Linked DNA regions of Homo sapiens: regions 2 and 3 are each linked to region 1. Evidence: promoter capture Hi-C in 16 types of primary human blood cells and fetal thymus (Javierre and others, 2016). All regions are on one chromosome and are shown on one strand. The core of a region is centred on a gene start or on the middle of the fragment in contact, and the rest is flanking DNA. Distances in the headings are between cores, read along the strand shown. Region 1 holds the start of ARL6 (ARF like GTPase 6). Region 2 overlaps GABRR3 (gamma-aminobutyric acid type A receptor subunit rho3). Region 3 overlaps RIOX2 (ribosomal oxygenase 2).

Region 1 (3,807 bases), core at 643-3,142:
CTTCCAAGACAACTGTATCTAAAAGGAGGTTGCATAGTCAACATTTTGCTTAGGCCTTTTGGGATATGATTATGGGTAGAAATTTCAAAACTAAATTTCAGTGATGTGCAGAGAAGAGATGGAACAGTGCCATGCCAAAAGGTGAGGCCTATTACAGAACCACGTTTGTCTTTCCCCAAGGATGAGTTTGACCTCAGGTACTTCCATTTGTGCCACTTCAATCTGCTTTTCTCCTTGTATCAGAGATTCAAATCTTATTCAGTCCATTTCTTTAAATTACAGCTTAAGGACCAGCATTTGTAAAATCTATTTTAAATTAACCTTCTGATGTCATGAAGCAATTCACACATACCATTTGATTTCAAAGTAAATTTGCTATTACTCACTTTATTTACTGCATAAACATATTGATATAAATGCTTATATCTTGTTCTCCATTTCATAATTTAGAACTTATGTTTTAAAAACGACAACTTCTCACATTTTCCCCCCTTTAAGCATCTACTATAAAGCACTGAGTGTTTAAAGCCTGATGCTTGAATATTCGTTTTTCACAGTACCTTGTATTGTGACTTTCCATCACTTTTCCATGGATTATCACTTGATACTTGTTAATGAAATATTTTGGGACACACAATTTAGAAGAGCAGGCAGTTTTTCTAAAAGAGGTAATCACATTTATTGAAATTGCTTTATAAACAACTATCATAGAGCCTTTAAACTTCTACGTTTCAAGTAGTTATAATTTTCCTTCCATAAGTTGACTTTCTGCATGCATAAATAAAAGATAATTGAAGCCAGTCAATATTTGTTAATCGTGTCTTAAGTGTGCAGCGAGAGACACAACTGTTTTCTGCAGCTTCCTACTCTGATAGCCATGATTCTCAACCCTGGCTGCACTCTGAAATCAATTGCTGAATCCGAATTTTTGAAAATAAGATCAGGGCATCTGTAGTTTTAAAAGCTACCCAGTGTTTCTGATGTGAAGTTACTATTGAGAACTACTGGCTTTCAGAATAAAGCCAGTAGTTTCAAACTTCCAAGCACAGCTTTTAAGGTTGTCCACAATCTGGCTCCAATCTTCCTTTCTTGTTTCTTATCTTACTGTAACCCTCTCTTTGCACACCAGCCAAATTCTCTTGGTTATTGTCTGACAGACTGTTTCCTAAAGGATTACATATTGCCAGAGAAGTCCAGAAGAATTAGGATGTTATCCACAGTTAACAGCTTAGAGGGTAAGCTGCAGAGACAGAGTGGTAGCCCAGAGAAAACACCACGAATGATACTTAGTAAACTCTGTAAAGTGTTTGTTGATTGAAATGTTGCCTACTTTTATTACCCCAAATAAACATTCTTATTCGGCTTTCAGTTTTTTATGATATAATTTAAATTACACTTACACACACACACACACACACACACACACACACACACACACCCCCAATACACGGGTCTAAGTTGAGCATTGTTAAAACCCATCAACCAAACATACGTCCAAACCAGTTTAGTAAGTTTTCTAGGGCCTCTATAACTCACCTTCTTTTCTACTTCTCATACATTAGCAACAACTACACGCGTGGAGTGAAAAACATGGGAAAGACCAAAGAGGAATTCTAAAACTGACGGGGACAGAGGGTGGCGCTGGCTTTAAAAACCGGCGTTGAGGAGATACCTGGTTTTTGAGGTTAGTCCGGAGGGCGCAGGAGCTGGCAACAGGAATGGACGCACTCGTATCGGTCTCCGGGATGGAAATCTGGTGCGAGGGTCCCTCAGCCTTCTTCTCGATGCCTACATGGGAAGGATGCCTGGTAATGAGCAAAGCCGTCTCTAGAAGTTGGGAAAACCGGCAGCCTCTGCAGCAGTCTGTGCATCAGTCGCTGAGCAGGCGCCTTGGCAGGCACCGTTCCCTTGGCAACAGGAGCTTCTTCCGGTCCTGAAGCCACGCCTCCCCGGGGGTCCTGGCGATTCAGCCGTTGTGCTATAGCTTCTGGGATTGAAGAGCTCCGGGAAAAGGTCAGAGGCGCGCCGAGGAACTATACATTGAAGAAAAATGTGTGCACAGGTGGCAGGGTGAGCTGCCTATTTCCTGCGAGGAGCCGGGCAGTTCCCGGCGTAGCATCATGGGAGTTGTAGGCTCGCGCACAGCTTTCTGGGAAGCGTTTGGCGTTCGCGTGTGCTGCGTGTTTGTCGCTCGGCCCTGGTCTTCCTGGGGATCCAAGAGGCTGGCGCTGGGTGTGGCGCGGAGAGTGTCGTTACCGGGCACCAGCGTAGCGTTGTGGCAACGACTGCAAGACGATACTGTCCCCCCTGGGGCAAGATGTGCGCCGGAGTTCCCCAGTTGCCCATCGCACCGACTCTTCTCTGGGTTCTGATAGGCCTCCCACCCTGAGTCCCTGTAGAGGTAAAACTGTTAATACAGGAAGGTAGAGGGGAGAACTGGTGTAAAAAGTCAAAAGGTGTTATTCGGCTAATAAAGTATGCCTGTACCCCTGCTTCTTAGTTGTGTGGTCTCCCGAAGAGATTTCTACCAGGCATAATCTCCTGTGAGTAGATTACAGTCTCCAGAATCAAATCGGCAGGTGGTCAGGAAAGGTATTAATAGTCAATACTTAAAGTTGACCACCTTCTTAAATTGCACTTGGATTTTATAGTCATAGTCACAAATGGTCTTCAAATAGAAAATATTTAGGCATACCCTTCCCCACATCTTTTATTACTGCGTTTTCCAACGGACACATTACAGATGCAGTCATTTTAAAGATCTAGCCTTTCAATCTGCCCAACTCCACTAACCTCACCCCCAGCGAATGGCCTCATTCTTCAAATAGGGGTTTGTATCTCTTCATTTTTTTTGTTTGCATGGGTGTAGGATTTCCGACCCCCTGCCCCCCACCGCGCGACCCTTTTCAACTAGCTAGTGTATGTTTACTGCACTGCCTGTTCTTTGGCCTGTCAATTCATTTGGCCTATTAAATGGACTAGGAGGGTGCAAAAAGAGACTAGAAGGAATTATTTCAAAGTAATATGGTAGGGGGGACGGTTGTAAGCGTGTGATTATGGGGTGATTTATCTTTTGTCACTTCTCCAAATTTCCAAATGTAATTGTCATTTTTACAGCGAAAAAACAAAAGCGGCTCTGGATTAGTGATTCTTGTTGAAAGACAAAAACAAAACAAAGACCCTATGGATGCATATCAACATATAAATGTCCTTGTAAAAATGGAGTATGGAAATACATTCTTTCTTACTGTGTGGTCTTAGCCCAATTTACCCTTCTCCGTGCTTCTATCCTCACCTTCAAAAATATAGTATTTATCTTATCTGGTAGTTCTGAGTATTAAAGATAACAGAAATACAGATGTTTGGCACATATTTATTGTTCAATAAATAATGTCCTGTCTTCTTTTGTCTTGAGCTTTTTATTGTGTAAACAAAATTGACCCAAACCGTAACTATGGTGGTTCTTTAACTTCTGAACTTCTAATCGTGAATGCATTGACAGGGAGGTGTTGAACACTTTTCTGTGTGCCTGGGTGTTGTGACTTACTTGTAAGAGATGGAAGCTAATGTGCTTGCGGCCAAAATATAACATTTTTTTTTCTTAGCGATCGGCAGAAATGTTATATTTCAGAAAACTTTCATGGACAGACTCAATTTTTCCTGCTAAAAGTTGATATTTTCTGCCTCTAGGTTGAGTTCATCTCTTTTGGCTTAATATAAAACATTTGGTGAAAACTGGAAATAAAATGGACATATTGAGCATCCAACTTTTCAGGAAAACAAGGCAGATAGATAATTCTTCTACAA
Region 2 (3,807 bases), core at 459-2,958, 250 kb before region 1:
TGTCTGAAATTGCTCCAATTCTACTCTCAGTATTTTCTCATTAAATGGATTTCTAAGGATATTTGCTTCTTCACAAATGCAGCCTGTGGTTGCTGCTGATCTGCAAAGGGACACTTCGGAATCTGATCTGTGTTGTCCCTGTGTGGCACTGTACTTTTAGTCTCAATAAAATTTTCTCTGTGTTCCTCTACTCCACCAACCACAGCACAAATGGAAAAGGCTGATATTTTTGACACCAGAGAAAAGGTCCCAACATTGCCCACGTCAAGGATTCTATGACACTCCCTGACTATGAGATATGACCATTACCATATTTGTACTTAAGAGTACATAATTCTACATACTCTTAAGACATGTTTTCAAAACACTTTTCCTTTTTAAATCACTAGTAGGTAAAAAGAATAAAAAACTAAAAAAAAAAAAAAAAGAAAACTGGAGGCACCACTCTTATACTAGAGGAGGAAATTATTGGCATGATCCCAAGCAAATGAGTAATGATTATTAGAATACCATTTATTTACACATGTGCCTTTATTATAATAATTGAGTATATAATAACTGATTCAATGAATAATGGAGAAATTTGTTGTTTAAAAAAACTTTAACAGTAATTCAGTTGCTGTCCAAGAGAATTAATCTCTCTGTTTTAAATGGTTTTAAAATGATTATAATGCATTCCTCAGCATATTAACCATTCTTCTTTCTTAAGGGTCTCCAGTGCCAGTAGGTATAGATGTCCATGTTGAAAGCATTGACAGCATTTCAGAGACTAACATGGTAAGTTTCTTCATGGGATATTGCTCTTTTTCTGAAAAGACAGAAACTCGGCAGTGTCAAAATCACTAGTGTTTTAATAAATCATTTTAATTATGTATGTTATTTATGTCTCCTACTTTGATTAATCATAGGGTCATGATTGCTGTGCTCTCTTCCATCCTCTTCATTCTAACCTTGATTAGAATTCTCATTCCTTTTCTACTCTTCTATTTTCCTTCTAATGGATTTCTAGTGGTGGAACACTGTAGAACATCATGATATATTTACCAATGTAGCAAGAACTGGGAACAATTGTATAAACAGAAGGATGACCATACTATATGTGCGATATGAAATCCGAATCATGAGTCCTTGCCTGTAAAATAATAAACAGTTGAACCAGCATTGATGGACTGCTTTCAAATATATCAAATGATATTAATTTTGCTTATCTGTAGACAACCAGTAGCAGAGGACAAAGAATTTTTTTAAGTTCATGGGACTAAAAATTTAATTAAAAATTTGTCTACTCCCTTATATTTTTCTAGAAATCTAAAAAAGACTGCCATTATTTAATTTTGCAATGAAACATCTGTATTTTCCTAGAGTATTATTCACTCTATGAAATATCCATAAAACTTGAAACTGATCCCTTATCTTCAAGCTTCCTGTTAGCCTTTTTCTGTCTTCTATGACATTTTGCATGCCTTGCTTTTCTGTTTCTTCTTCCCGTCCCTTAATCACTTTGGCTATTTTTATGTTTTAATATTATCAACCGTAATTTTCCATTTTATTTTCTCTATTCCCAATTTAGGACCACTTTCCTTGTTTACATAATTACCAGAGACATTTTTCATTTAAGTGATTTTAGGTTTTTCAGTTTTTTTGCTCTAAGAATAGTTAATAACATTGCTAGCTTATACATACAAGCACCTACATATTTGTTTTCAGATATATTTCCTTTTTACTCACTCTTGATCTATTAATTTGTTAATGTAGTTTCAGAGTTTGGTTGAGCCCCCTTCAGTTTGTTTTTCTATCCCAAATAAAGGGTGCCTTTACAGCTTCAAATTTTCAGCACCTGTTTCCTTGTTGTCTTAGTCTGTTTGTGTTACAGTAAAGGAATACCTGAGGCTGGGCAGTTTATAAAGAAAAGAGGTTTGCTTGGCCCATGGTTCTGCAGGCCATACAAGGAGCATGACACCGCCATCTGCTCCTGGTGAGGGCCTCAGGAAGCTTCTACTCATGGTGGAAGGTGAACGGGAGCAGGCATCACATGGCAAGAGAAGGAGGAATGGGGGGTGGGGGAGGTACTAGGTTCTTTCAACAACCAGCTCCAGGTGGCAGGGGTGAAGAAGGGAGAAGACTGTCATGGGAAATAATTGAGAACTCATTCATTACTAAGAAGATGGCTCCAAGCTATTCCTGAAGGATCTGCCGTCAAGACCTAAATACCTCCTGATATGGTTTGGCTCTGTGTTCCCCACCCAAATCTCATCTTGACATGTTGAGGGAGGGACCTTGTGGGAGGTGATTTGATCATGGGGGCAGTTTCCCCCATGCTGTTCTTGTGATAGTGAAAGAGTTCTCATGAGACCTGATTATTTGAAAGTGGCAGTTTCCCCTGCACATGCTCTCTCTCCTGCTGCCCTGTGAAGAAGGTGCTTTCTTCCCCTTTGCCTTCTGCCGTGGTTGTAAGTTTCGTGAGGCCTCCCCAGCCATGCAGAACTGTGAGTCAATTAAACCTCTTTTCTTTATAAATTACACAGTCTCAGGTAGTTCTCTATAGCAGTGTGAAAATGGACTAATACACCTCCCTTCAAGCCCCACCTCCAACACTGGGTATCAAATTCCAACACAACATTTGGAGGGAACAAACATCCAAACTCTATCACGTGTTCTTACCCAATGGCTATGTGTCTTTATATTTAAATTGCTTTTTCCATCTCATTTCTTTGTCCTCAATTGCTATCTTTTCCGTCATCCTCTTTAGATGGATCTCTTTCCTTTTCTTTCAATACTACACCACTTTCAGGAGTTAATGATAAAGGCCCTAACTGGTACCTACTAGTAAGATGCAGCTTATGAATATGTTTTGGTTTGGTTTCAATTTTGTATTTGGTTTGAATTTTAGTTTTTTATCTCCATTCTACCCAAAGTAGTAAACAATTTAATGTTTGGGCCAAGAGCAGTGGCTCATGCCTATAATCCCAGCACTTCGGGAGGCCAAGGTGGCCAGATCATTTGAGGTCAGGAGTTCGAGACCAGCCTGGCCAACATGAGGAAACCCTGTTTCTACTGAAAATACAAAAAAAATTAGCTGGGTGTGGTGGCACATCCCTGTAGTCCCAGCTACTCAGTAGGTTGAGGCAGGAAAATAACTTGAACCTGGGAGGTGGAGGTTATACTGAACCAAGATCACACCACTGCAATTAATCCTGGGTGGCAGAGTGAGACTCTTTTTAATAAAACCAAGGAGTAGCTCTTCCATGATTGGGAAAAGTTAAGTTATTTTCTTTTCAAACTCCATTTTCCATCTGAAAAGATTTAGTTTGTTGTTTATCCAATCCACTCATTTGATGGCCATTTTTACGTACATGAATCCTTGAATTTCATTCCATTTTCTGGAATATTTTACATGTGTGTTCTTATAAAACTTTCAAAAGTTGTTTTTATATATGCTTTAGAATAAGTATTGTTGATACATAAACTGTAGCTTATATAGTGATTTTCAGAGTGTTAAAATTTAAAATTTAGATTCTGTGTATTATTTTTGTAATAATGCAAATACTGCAATTAAAGATAAAAAGAGAGAGACAAAGTGAACAAACAGGGATCTGTTGAGGGAGGGACCTAGAAAATATCAATCACTAAAATCAAATAATCTTTTCATCTATATCCTTAATTCATATTTTTATTTATAGTGATTCCTCCAAATCACTAAAAGTTCAGAACACATAAAAATTCTAGAAAGTTCTAAACAAAATCTTCTATGACCCATTACACCTTGTTTCAGTCTGTAAACTCTTCAGCTAATGGTCTGCCTCATCC
Region 3 (3,807 bases), core at 764-3,263, 180 kb before region 1:
TCACAGTGGAAGGGGAAAGGGAGCTGGCATTTGCAGAACACATGGTGAGAGAGGAAGCAAGAGCGAGGAGAAGTGCCAGGCTCTTTTTAACACCAGCTGTCATGGGAACTAATGGAACAAGAAGTCACTCACCGCCCCCAACCCCAGGGAATTATCTATTCATGAGGGATCTGCTCCCCACAATGTGACCCAAACACCTCCCCTTAGGCTGCACCTCCACACTGGGGATCAAATTTGAACATGAGATTTGGATGGGACAAACATCCAAATCATAGCATGGGTAAAATTGTTACCATCAGCCAGTGAGATTCAAGAAATGTCCAAGATTATCATCAACCTTCTCCAAGGCACAGGTGCCTAATTTATGACAGATTTAGGCTGCAAATGATATAACATACTTTTGGATGGATGATGTCATTGATGACTTCCAGATGGATGATGTCAGTATCCTATAGCAAAGACCACCAAGAACATACTCCTGAATTCAGACGAAATTGGATTTATTGACTTGTTGCAGTGGGAAGACCACACACCATTGAGAACTGCAGGGCATCTCAGTAAAACGGTGTTAGAAAAGACTTATAGGACTCAGGTGTATGTTAGGTGATTTTGGAGAGGGTTCAAGGAAGCAGGGCTTTGCTCTGGATTGGATGCTGTCAGGAAATGGAAGGGATTCTATGATTAAGTCTCCTAAATGTTATCTGGTAGGCAGGAGGAATGTATGAGGCTGAAGTTATCAATGGTAAAGCGGAAGTGGTCACTCATTAGCCAGAGTAGGGGGATGTTCGGTCAGTGTTGTGGTTTGGAATATGTTCTTGCCTTGCCTGAGTCCAGACATGAGTATGTACGGAGTGGTGGTGTTTTGTTTTGACCTATCATGGTGACAGTGATCTCTGATGTTAGCATTCTGTGGAATTGCCTGTGTTCAACAGGAGAACACAAAGACCTAGCTGTGAGTGCCAGGCCAGCTTTTTGGCTGCTGTTCTTTCTCAGGGTTGAGTGAAAAGAGTATTTTTTACTAACTTTAATAAAACTCTTAATTATGACCAAGAGAGAACCACTGAGATAGATAATCTATAAGGTCCCTTCCAACACTGATTCTATATACATTTTTATCATAGTCTTTGGAGGAAGCTTAGAATTTGTTTTTGATTGTATCTATTCAAAATAGCAAATGTTTTACAAGCACATGGTTTAATCTTTAGCAGAACAGTTTGCTTATGCACCAGCTTATGGCCCAGACTACTTCAGTGTTTTCCTTATCTTAGGCATTATACTCAATAAAGTGATGATCCCTCACGACTCCTTCCCCACGCAGATGACCCTGTAAGGCTAGTCTGTTTTTATTGGGTATTGTTCCACTAAGTTAAATCCAATTTGGAAAAAAAAAATTTTCTGTGGACTTTATTAGATGGCTTTTATAGGATACTATTCTTGACTTACATAGACTGAATAATTGACCAGGGTCACACACCTAATAATTGGTGGAGTAGTGCAATTTTGAACTCAGGTAGTACTTCCAGAGTCCATATGTTGAGCGAGAAGCTTGTAGAGGACAGAACCTGGAGGAGTGAGTGTTCTGTGCAGAAAGCACCACAGCCTTATGTGCTATGATAGCCACTGTACTTCGATGGTATTATTTTTGTCTATTTATTGTACTTATAAACTTACATTATTTATCTATGTCTGTCTTCACTGTAAGAATGAGCTGCATAATGATGTGAACTATAATATCAGTACAATGTTGGGGTAAGCAAATTCTTCAGTTGGAGTGTATGCCATGTTTGGATTCACCTGTAAATTGTTAGTAAATGTGTTTCCTATGTGTATGTATAAGCAAGTTTGAATCTGCCTGTTTCCTTTTTTGAAGGTCGGCTTTCTCTCTTTGGGGTTTTCTAGGTGGAAAGTTACCGAGGCTGGACAGTGTAGTGAGACTGCAGTTTAAAGACCACATTGTCCTCACAGTACTGCCGGATCAAGATCAATCTGTGAGTATCCAAGAGGAGGAGATTTCCTGTCTTCTCAGGGTGTTTTTCATCAGAGGCCTCAGGTTATTAGATTAACCACTGGTCTCTGCCCTTCTTTAGGAATCCACCTGCATTCAGTTTAATGCCATTTCTTCAGGTCAGATGATGACCAAATCTCACAGTTCCAATTCCATATTTTCTTGCCCTCATCCTCACAGAACCTTCCTTCATCCCCTTTATGTGGTGATTAATGTCTGGTCTTTGCTTCTCATCCTACTTCGGGCCTTACTGTTCTTGCTTGGACAGCCACAGACCTCATTCCTGAGTTTCTCAGCCCCAGTCCTCCACACTGTGCAGATCTATATTTCTATGTGGTTTTGTGGATATTGTTGCATCTCCTTAAACTCTATCCTGTAGATTATGGAGAACAAAGTATATATTCTGTAATTTTGCTTCCTAGCCCAGTGATTCCCCAAACTGGCTAACTGATCATGGAGTCAATTGGAAAGCTTTTTAAAATTATAAATTCCTGGGTTTCATCTGGTCTTGGAGCCTTTGGATTTATGTTTTGATAGAGCTCCCTGTACAGTCCTAAAGACCTTGGAACGATCTCATACCATATGGCTCCACCTCATTCCTCCTAATCAGCTCTCTAAGGAGCTATCCCATGAATGATCAAGGGGGATGAGAGGGGCACTCAACATGTCTCGATAACCAGATTGTTCCAGCCGTCAGGGCCAGAGTTGGAATATATATATGAATATACATGAATAGATATATATATATATATATATACATCCTCAAAAGTACACATTCCTACATCCCTGTCTAAAAAAAAAATAGTGATTCTGATAACCAGTCAGTTTGAGACATTGTACGCTAGGCTAAGATTTTTTTGCCCTTATCTAAGAGGTGACAAAGAATGACTAAAGGCTCTGGAAGAGACAATAAACTGCACTGTGTAACATGGGGAGTGAAGGGAGATAGGGACCATTTGGGAGGGTAGTGTAATTGAAATGGAGTTTTTTATCGATCACACAGCTGGTATTTCTCAGGAGTTAATGACTTCATGATTATAAATTGTCAGTTTATACCTAGAAATGTCAGATTTTTTTATTCAAAAAAGATAGTGCAGGTATGATTAAAAAAACTGAGGATTTCATTGATAAGTTGATACATAAATCACTGCTTTTTCATTAAATCCTGAAGATGCTCTTCCAGGTAGCACTCCAGCTGTTTTAACAACTTAGAATGCCCATTAATTGCCACATACAAATAGTAACCTGTGGTGACTAATGAAGTATAGACATTGTGTGGATGCACACACCCGTCACTTTTTGCCAAAAGGATTCTTTACAGTATTCAATAAATTTCACTTGAGCACCAAGGCTTTTGAAATTTTTTTTGGTGTTGACCTATTGGAAAACCTTCCTAGTACTGACACCTTCAGTGTTGTGTTGTTGATGGCCTAATGCATTTATTTTTTCCCCAAAGGATGAAGCTCAAGAAAAGATGGTGTACATCTATCATTCCTTAAAGAATAGTAGAGAGACACACATGATGGGAAATGAGGAGGAAACAGAGGTTTGTTTCAACTGAAAACAAATGCCTATCCTGTGACTTGGGTGGTGGTTGGGAAGAATTGATTATTTTTGATTTACAGGTAATATGCTTTTTATGGCTGCACTGTGGACTTAACCATTTTGCACTACTCACAGAGCTCCTGCATGGGGATGATTAAGTCAGACATTTCTGTGATACATGCACACCAGTTTTAAGACATACTAGCTGGGACCTGTAGCCTTATAGGAATGGTATAATGTAAAACATTTCAAATTAC

Evidence for each region. The method cuts DNA at HindIII sites, captures the fragments that hold promoters and counts their contacts. A CHiCAGO score of 5 or more calls a contact.
Region 2: a fragment that was not itself captured here is called in contact with the fragment with the promoter of ARL6 in region 1 in 15 of 17 cell types (total B cells, activated CD4 T cells, non-activated CD4 T cells and 12 more); the score reaches 13.8 in total B cells.
Region 3: a contact is called between a fragment that was not itself captured here and the fragment with the promoter of ARL6 in region 1, in 1 of 17 cell types (non-activated CD4 T cells). The highest score is 5.4, in non-activated CD4 T cells.

Annotation. Positions count from the first base shown.
Region 1 is chr3:97,762,843-97,766,649 of GRCh38, reverse strand. It overlaps ARL6 (ARF like GTPase 6), which reads right to left and starts at 1,892. Exons shown (of 8, transcript NM_001278293.3): 1 at 1,673-1,892. RefSeq lists enhancers at 1,735-1,844, 1,560-2,059, 1,885-2,424, 2,060-2,561. The HindIII fragment of the contact is 6,880 bases long and covers 1-3,807 here.
Region 2 is chr3:98,014,625-98,018,431 of GRCh38, reverse strand. It overlaps GABRR3 (gamma-aminobutyric acid type A receptor subunit rho3), which reads left to right. Exons shown (of 10, transcript NM_001105580.3): 4 at 710-777. Among named protein-coding and RNA genes, the nearest start is that of GABRR3, 19 kb to the left of the region's middle. The HindIII fragment of the contact is 572 bases long and covers 1,423-1,994 here.
Region 3 is chr3:97,945,542-97,949,348 of GRCh38, reverse strand. It overlaps RIOX2 (ribosomal oxygenase 2), which reads left to right. Exons shown (of 10, transcript NM_153182.4): 8 at 1,900-1,988; 9 at 3,462-3,551. Among named protein-coding and RNA genes, the nearest start is that of RIOX2, 25 kb to the left of the region's middle. The HindIII fragment of the contact is 931 bases long and covers 1,548-2,478 here.